2 separate regions of the Homo sapiens genome follow, and region 2 is linked to region 1. The links are contacts of gene promoters, found by promoter capture Hi-C in human tissues and cell types (Jung and others, 2019). All regions are on one chromosome and are shown on one strand. The core of a region is centred on a gene start or on the middle of the fragment in contact, and the rest is flanking DNA. Distances in the headings are between cores, read along the strand shown. Region 1 holds the start of CLN8 (CLN8 transmembrane ER and ERGIC protein). Region 2 overlaps DLGAP2 (DLG associated protein 2).

Region 1 (4,566 bases), core at 1,573-4,072:
GACCATCCTGGCTAACATGGTGAAACCTTGTCTCTACTAAAATACAAAAAAAAAATAGCCAGGCGTGATGGCGAGCGCCTGTAGTCCCAGCTACTCGGGAGGCTGAGGCAGGAGAATGGCGGGAACCTGGAAGGCGGAACGTGCAGTGAGCTGAGATAGCGCCACTGCACTCCAGCCTGGGTGACAGAGTGAGGCTCCGTCTCAAAAAAAAAAAAAAAAACAAAAAACTGGAGGCCGAACCTAATGGACTCATCTGGTTCTTTCATTCTGGAAGGCTTCCAAGCCCTTCCACACCAGCCCCTTTCCTCTCTGCAGTAGAGGAAGTGGAGCCGGAGAATAAACAACTCCTGGAAGGCCACCATCTCTTGACGCTGCAGATCTTCATTTTCTTTGGAGAAAATGTATACAAAAAGCTTGTCTTATAAGATTCTGTGGTTTCAGCTCTTCTATTGCACTGGGCCATGAAGTTTTTTAAAAATCTGAATGCAAACACATCAGTAAGAGTGTTAGCTCTGTTGCTGCAGTGTGACCAGGAACCAGGCTCAGTGGCCACTGGAACCCTTCGACTCTGTCATGCATCTATGCGCTCCTCCGGTTTATGGGGGCTAAACTGCTATGGATACCAGCATTTTTGTTTTTCATTGAGATAATTTATCCAAACTTGGAAGTGACGTCAAAAGGGAAAAAAAAGGTTGCATGCTTTTTTCCCTGCTAACGCAAGTTCAGTGTTTTACAACCCCAACAATCACTTGACTTTCTAGGAGAAATAACTAAACTATTTACCACTGATTGTGGGTCACGCATTTTACAATCTGCAAAGCTAATTCTCCTTTCCATCAAGAAGAAAAGACAATCCCAAAGGCTGTGGTTTCAATGCACACAGGATATTCACCAATCTTATTATCTAATCTGGCAATCTTCTCTCAGCATTCCTGTTACCCACTCACTAAGAAAATCCTAGTTTTGTGTATTCTCTTTTGAACTGACATTCCTATCCTGCTGTATACTGCATTAATGACTGAAATATAACCTGACAAGAGCTATTTACATGAGAATTATACTTCTAACATTTTGAAAATTATACATTGATGGGTTGTAAAAATGTTTTCCAAAATCAACAGAAATACATGTTTAATACACAAAATTCAGAAAATATAAACAAGCATAAAAATACAAAAATAAAAATTTACAATCCTCTTACACAGCTCCAAGCACCATCACTATTTTTTGGTGCCTGCTGGGTCAATTGTTTTTCTAGATATAAACTCTTCTTTTTACATAAAAGGGGATAACAGTATACAAGCTGCTCCCCGGCCTGCTTCTCTTCTCTCAGCAACAGCTAATCCTCCTCTGCAACACGGTTGCAGGGACTCCACCATTTACCTACCCGGTGTCCTACCAGGCTTTTGCCCAGTTCCTCGTTATCAGAAGACATTGTGTATTGAACATCTCTGAGGCCACCTAGAGAACCTGTGCTCTTTGTATGGAAACTGGATGCTCAGGAAGAACTTCCTTAACAACCACAGCCTCCATGACGGCCAATCTGAAAGTGAGGCACAGAAGTGTTCAAGCTCAGTGGGGAGCTGTGGCCATCTCATATTCCCTCAATCACTCACACTTCCTGCACCATTGCTCTTTCCTCTCACAACCTTCCTGAAAAGTTGTATGTAAATAAAAATCAAAATACGGGAGTGAGGTAAGCAGAAGCTGGATAGTTACAGATTTCACACAGAGGGTAAACTGAAACAGGAGTCAGAAGCAGCCGCCTCGCGCCAGTCTTTCAGAGAAGAGTCACTTACAGCAGAATCTACACAGGCTGGGGAGCCCCTGGCTCCCCTCCCTACTGTCCACACCCAACCCCAACCTAGAGCAGCTGGCTATAGGGCCCAGAGCCCAGGCGGGTCCCACCTCCTGCTGACCTGACCCAGCGCCCGCTCTCTCCCCCGCACACTTTGGTGACCTTACCCAGCGTCCCTCCCCGCTCCTACAGGTTCTGACTGACCCAGCGTCCCTCCGCCTCCCACACCATGTTGAGCTGCACCTTGTCCCCTTCCGCCCCAGCTAACTCGGTGACCAGTGGAGGCCACACCCACGTGACACCTGCTGTCCTTGACAGCAGCTCCGACGGCACCTCTGTGGCTCTGCAGGAGCCGCCTCCCCGCCTCGTGGGCACACAGGTGAGCTGACCGTACTTGCCCAGCCGGTCTGAGGGAAGCGAGGTCAGGGGCGACGGCGCCGCCTCCGCCTCCGCCTGTCCCCTCCCTCCGTCCGGCATCCGCGCCGCTCAAGGACTCCAAAGTCAGCGTCGCGGTGAGGAGCCCCCCACGCCCAACCCGCGCAGGCAGGACCCCGGGCTGCGGGGCTCGAAAGTCCCCCACAAGCTGCTGTCCGGGAACCGCACGGCCCGGGGTGCCGCACGCCCACCGGAAGGCAGGGCTGGGACCGCGGACGCCAGGAGCCACCCCGGCCCCTCACCCGGGCTCCCCCTCACGTGGGCTCCCGCGCGCCCATCTGGGTTCCCCCTCAGCTGAGTTCCCGGCCCCTCACCTGGGATCCCCGGTCCCCTCACCCGGGCTTCCCAGCCCCCTCGCCTGGGCTCCACGCGCGCTCACCTGGGCTGCCCCTCACCTGGGTTCCCGGCCCCTAACCCGGGCACCCCGCGCGCTCACCTGGGCTGCCCCTCACCTGGGTTCCCGGCCCTCACCCGGGCTCCCTGAGCGCTCACCTGGGCTGCCACTCAGCCGGGCTCCCTGCGCTTGGCGCCGCCCCGCCCCTGCAGGACTCCCGGCAGTCACTGACCTCATTGCCGCCCAGTCACGACTGGCCGGCCTCAAACACCGCCCGCGCACGCGCGTTCGCACGCGCGTGCGCACGCGTTCTGCCCCCCTGGGGGCGTCGCTACGAGAGGCCCCGCCTAGGCGCTACGACGGCGGCGGGCGCGGGAGGGGCGGGGCGGCGGGCGCGGGAGGGGCGCGGCGGGGGGCGGGGCGCGGCGCGGGGGGCGGGGCGCGGCGGGGGGCGGGGCGCGGCGGGGGGCGGGGCGCGGCGGGGGGCGGGGCGCGGCGGGGGGCGGGGCGCGGCGGGGGGCGGGGCGCGGCGGGGGGCGGGGCGCGGCGGGGGGCGGGGCGCGGCGGGGGGCGGGGCGCGGCGGGGGGCGGGGCGCGGCGGGGGGCGGGGCGCGGCGGGGGGCGGGGCGCGGCGGGGGGCGGGGCGCGGCGCGGCGGGCGCTGTGGGGCGGCGGGGTGGACGCGCTGAACCACGGCCGGCGGGAGGGGCGGGGCCGGGCTGAACCATGGCGGGCGGCGGCATGGGGGCGGTGGGGCTCCGCGGGCAGCCTGGTTGCGCTGCACCCGGACGGGGCCGAGGGGACCTGAAAGCTGCGGCAGAGCCTGACCGCGCCGTTCTCCAGAAGAGCCCCGGCCGCGGCTGAGTCGCGCTCCGGGTGTGGACGGAGCCGGAGCCTCCCCGGGGCTCGGTGAGGACACAGGGCCCAAGCCCCGGACCTTCAAGTCTTGACCGAGCGCATCCCCGGCCCTTCTGCGCCCACACCTGAGTTTTTGTCTGTAGGAGTTTCCGCAGTTTGCTAAGGTTGTTATTCGAGTTACTTATGTTTCTTCTCTCTAAGGTTGTTATTCGAGTTACTTATGTTTCTTCTGTCTAATGTGTTTTGTTCCCTCTTTAGAATCGACATCTAGAGGAGTACTCACCACTTAATTGATGATCAATACACGTTCCTTGAAAGAACCGATAGCATGCGATCGATACAGAGCATCTGCACTGGGATTGTCCGCCCCGCCTGTCAGGGAGGCCTCGGGGGCTAATGGAGCTGAGGGTATAGTCGGCCTTGGACCCTCGCTTTTTTCCTTTCCTGTACTATGAAGATAACTGCCTTATCTCCCCCTCAGGACTGTTTTGGGGATTAAATAGGACGTTTAAATTACCAACGCTCTTTGAAATAAACATTTCAAAATTATTATAACCCTTTAGTACATGTGGGAAAACGTTGACATTCATGTTCAAGTTTATTTTTCTGCTGGCTCATTTAGGTTTGTTGAAGCCTTGAGTCCCTAGGATTGTCTAAGAACATGGGTAAATGTGTGTGGAGGCCTCCCTGGAGGCCAGAGAACTGCCAGCAGCCTTCATGATGTTAGGGGAACAGGAACCTAGGAGAGCCAGGGTGACATCGTTTTAAAATCAACAACCCATCTTGGCGGGCGCGGTGGCTCAAGCCTGTAATCCCAGCAGTTTGGGAGAAAAAAATTAGCCGGGTGTGGTGGTGGGCACCTGTAATCTCAGCTACTCAGGAGGCTGAAGCAGAATTGCTTGAACCCAGGAGGCAGAGGTTGCAGTGAGCTGAGATCACGCCATGGCACTCTAGCCTGGGCAACAAGAATGAAACTCTGTCTCAAAAAAATAAAAATAAAATAAAATAAACTCCATCTTAAAACCAGTGAAACCACCATTGCAAAATTATAACTGAGACAGTGAGAGATCTGACCTAACCAACTCCATCCTACTTTTAACCTCCAAACTGTCCTTGTTCATTCCTGGGTGTAGGCCAAACTA
Region 2 (4,566 bases), core at 1,477-3,976, 1.0 Mb after region 1:
AAGAACGCACAAATCCTCAGTTTCTGTTTTGTGTGGGACTTTCTATTATATGCAGCCAAAAGTATGCTGATACAGCAAAAAAACAAAAACAGAAAATCAAAACCACTGTCCACCTCAGCACCTGCCAGTGTGCAGCTGGCATTCTGATCCACATTCATTCAGCAGATGAGGGGCTCATGCCCAGCAAGGTGTCAGGTGCAGGGACACTGCCATGACCACAGTGGACGGCCCTCTATCCCACAGATCTTCTCTCCCAGCCCGTGGCACTGGATGGTGGAGGCTGCGCCCCCAGCTCTGGAGCCCCCCTGCCGACGTGGCCTGTGGCTCTGTGTGACCCCACACGGGATCCAATGCGCCATCTGACCCCTCTTCCCCAGTTTCCTCATCCGCAGCCTGCAGACAATGCCAGCACTGACCTCACAGGGCTGGCATGAGAATTCTATGAGTTAATATGAGTAACTCGCCCAGCAGTGCCCAGCACATAGGAAACGTTCAACAGATGCCAGATATGATCAGAAAACATCGAAAATAAATAAGTCGCATGGGGTGTGAGAAGGCAAGGGAGCTGGGAGCACTGGAGGGATGGCACCCACTTTGGCCTGGTCTCTCTGAGAAGCTCCACATGTGGGAAGGCTTGGAGGAAAGCAGCGACGCACCCCCGGCCTTCCTGCAGGGCACACGGGCCCCGACCAGGACCATCACTGAAGTTCAGGCACCAGTAAGGAGGCCTGGGTGACGGGGGCAGAGTGTTGAGGGGATGACCTTGGCTGGCCTGAGCAGGCCGTGAGGGGTGGTGCGGACCCCCATAGGCAGGTGGCCTGGCGCTGAGTGAGATGGAGATGTGATCAGGCTTCTAGGGTTCCTCTTTCTGGAGTCGGTATCCTTCCAGTCTGGTCTTTATGCTCCAAACTCAGTAGCTTTAGGGAAATGGGATGAAAGTATTCATACTGTCTTATAGTCCGTTCTCTTTACTTAATATGGTATGAACACCTTCTTATAGAATTAGGTACTTAACTTTCATGTTTTTGTGGATGTGTATTTTTTATAACATTGCTGTACCACCATGAATTTACCCAATCCTGTTACTGCTGTTTTCCAATATTATACTATGAAACAAAACTGGAGGGAACATCCACTTAGCTAACTTATTGTAAATTCATGATTATTTCCTTAGGAAAAGTTTCCAGAAGTGAAATTGCTGGGATAGTTACATGTAAAGAAGAGTTTTTTTAAAATTGAGTGCTGCGACTCTTGAGAAAATATCATTAGAGAAGCAAGTAGCTGGATAAATTGAAGACTGAGAAATACTGTTTGGTTGCTTTAAAGAACTACGGAACTCAAGTTTCACCAACAAAAATAAAACTTTGAATCTAATTATAGTGACAACCTAGAACATTTTGTTTCAGACCCAGTAGTGCTTCATTCTGAAATGGCCACAACAAAAGGTTGAAACTACAATTCTCAATTGTTTATGCAAATTTCTAAATTATATATAGTATAGCCAGAAAACAGATGTTCGGAAATTTGCTCAGAATGTCAAAATATTACAAAGAATGTTACAAAATGGAAATTATTTTTAAAGAGCTAAAGGTTTCATATTAAAGACCAAGAAAAAAGGTAAAGAACCTGCCGCTGTGCTTGTCTCCAGCACCCACAACTCGGAAGCAGCGGGAGAAGGGACGGTGGCGTAACGAGGCATTCACGGTGTGTATTTACGAGTTCATGCAACTGTTTATCCAGTGACATGGCCTAAAACCCTGCGGCAGGTGTGGGGATGGCCTGGGCTACCCCTTCCCGCCATCTCTGCTGCACTGAGGACAGCATGCGGACAGACTGGGGGATGGGGAAGCCGGGACCCAGTCCAAGCGAGGAATTCGGAGGCTGGGAGCATGACCTCACTCAGGCATCGGGGCCGGGGAAGCAGCATTCCAACTAGGTTTGAGAGAACAGACATGAGGAAAGGACGGAATGAAAAGCACCGTCCAGTGTGGGTGAAGCCAGAGTGTTGCTGGGGCACAGCCCAGGCAGGGAACAGGGAGTGACCGTGGGAAGCAGACAGCCAGCACCCCGGGAGGGCGACGTGGCCGGAGAAGAGGCAGGGAGTGACCGTGGGGAGCAGACAGCCAGCACCCCGGGAGGGCGACGTGGCCGGAGAAGAGGCAGGGAGTGACCGTGGGGAGCAGACGGCCAGCACCCCGGGAGGGCGACGTGGCCGGAGAAGAGGCAGGGAGTGACCGTGGGGAGCAGACGGCCAGCACCCCGGGAGGGCGACGTGGCCGGAGAAGAGGGAGGGACGCAGGTTGGGCTGGGGAATCTGTACCTCGAGGAGGCGTCAGCCCCTCTTCTGCACCTTCACCCATTCAGATCATTAGATGCGACCCAGGGCCAGGGTTCAAGGGTGATCAAGACCCTTCCTCACAGAGTGGCTATTCCAATACATCAAAGACAAGGAAAGTGGGAATTACAAGGTGGTGAGAGGTGTCACCCTAACAGTCAGAGCACAGAGAAACCTTCCCAACCCAATCTCGTGGGTCGGGGGTATATGTGGAGAGGAGACGCTGCCTCTAAGCTTGCTGAGCGAACGAGCACTTCTTCCCAACGCACAAGATGAGAGACAGAAGAGGGAAGCGGCGCTGGGTCTGAGAGAACCACGATGATGGCTCCATCCATAGACTGCCACGGCCACCAGAACAAGTCACTTCCTTCAGCTAAAACAGGTGTCTGGGCATTTAGATGCAAAGACTCAGAGGAAACGTGAAGGCACGTGAAACTTGAGAAACTGCTGTTGTCTGCAGGACACACGACGTGAATCCACGTCTTCAGCCCTAAACCACAGTAGCTTAGTGAGTGATCCAGACATGAAGACCCGGCCACGGAAATCACATGCAAATACCAGCAAAAGGCATCGCGCAGTGGCCCATGCCCACAATCGCAACATTTTGGGAGGCTGGGGTAGGCTGATGGCTAGAGCCCAGGAGTCAGAGTCTAGTCTGGACAACATGGTGAAACCCCATCTCTACTAAAAATACAAAAAATTAGCTGGGTGTGGTGGTGCACGCCTGTAGTCCCAGCTACTCGGGAGGCTGAGGTGGGAAGATCGCTTGAGCCCAGGAGGTCAAGGCTGCAGTGAGCTGAGATTATGCCACTCACTCCAACCTGAAACACAGGAGTGAGACCGTCTCTAAATAAGTAAGTAAATAAATACCAAGAAGAGGTCATCAGTGCTGAGGGTAGGCTGTGCATGTGAGTTTTGCTTTTGGTTTATTTCAAAGAAACCAAATCAAGACAAAATCATTAAAAAATACTTCTGTATTTTTAACTGTTATATATTACACAACCCCAGCCCCTGAATATAAGATCTACCCTCAGAACATCTCTTACAAGTTAGTGCCAGAGAAAATTTATCTTCACCAAAAAATGAGTATGCAACGTCTACCCTGAAAGCATGATCCTCAGGTTGAACATGGCTTTGTAGTTTTGGGTTTTGTTGACTTGACTCCCTGGAAGCTCAGTGTCAAACGTGATGCCCAGAGAATTACATCCATCCTCATGGTTATCACATGTGTTTCTTCCGATTTTCTATTTCTATTTTCTAATTAGCATTTTTTCCCTTGTCCTTCTGTGGTTAAGTTGGGTCCAAAACTTTTTGGAAAGTGGCAAGAGATATACAAAAAAGTAAAACAAGACCAGAAATAATAAATAAAACAGTTTTGAGAGAAATCAAAGAGTTGCTTGATAACTTCCATTGTGGACTGACTCAAAGTAGGCCTCAATTGTATTTTTTCATGATAAAAATAGTCAAGACTAATCCAGCATTTCCTACGTGCACCATTCTTATCACTTTACAGTCATGAATTCATTTAATCCTCCTTAACCCTATCAAGTTAATATTGCATTGGCCCCACTCTTAGTGATGAGAAAACTGAAATACGGTGAGGTCAAATAAAGAGCCAAATGCAGCTGGGAAAAGTGACTCACTCCTGTAATCCCAGCACTTGAGGAGGCCAGGGCAGGAGGATTCCTTAAGGACAGGAATCTAAGGCCAGCCTGGGCAACACTGCAAGACCTCCGTCTCTACCAAAAAAAAAAAAAGTAAAAATTAGTTGGGTGCGGTGACATACACCAACTACTAGACAGGCTGAGGTGGGAGGATCACTCGTGCCCAGGAGGTCAAGACTGCAGTTAGCTATGATCATGCCAGTGCACTCCCGCCTGGGTGACAGAGGGAGACCCTGTCTCTAAAAAGCCACTTGCAATGCTGTGCAAAAGTCACAGGACAAACATTCGTTACACACAAAAGGATGTTTTTCAATACCGCCTAACTTAAAATACATACTCTATGGACCCTTGAGATCATTCCCATTTTTCTTCTTTTGTACAGAGTATGAAACATTTTAAAGACAACGATCAGTCAGATTCACAGGTTACTTTAAAAATTTTTAACACAAGTTTACAGATGGGCTATTTCCAAATGTTTATTCATTGTTTAAAATGGTTGATTTAAATTTTTCTCTTTTTTTCCTGCCGATACACACGATGTACCATATAAGAAACAGTACCCGAAGA

The links. Contacts are between HindIII fragments. The study calls those that stand out against the background at their distance.
Region 2: a contact is called between a fragment that was not itself captured here and the fragment with the promoter of CLN8 in region 1, in 1 of the 25 tissues and cell types used here (thymus).

Annotation. Positions count from the first base shown.
Region 1 is chr8:1,762,045-1,766,610 of GRCh38, reverse strand. It overlaps CLN8 (CLN8 transmembrane ER and ERGIC protein), which reads right to left and starts at 2,822. Exons shown (of 3, transcript NM_018941.4): 1 at 2,726-2,822. CLN8-AS1 (CLN8 antisense RNA 1) reads left to right here and starts at 2,027. Exons shown (of 2, transcript NR_134303.1): 1 at 2,027-2,177; 2 at 3,683-4,566. The HindIII fragment of the contact is 16,643 bases long and covers 1-4,566 here.
Region 2 is chr8:742,200-746,765 of GRCh38, reverse strand. All of the region lies in intron 1 of DLGAP2 (DLG associated protein 2), which reads right to left. Among named protein-coding and RNA genes, the nearest start is that of DLGAP2, 6.9 kb to the right of the region's middle. The HindIII fragment of the contact is 7,091 bases long and covers 1-4,566 here.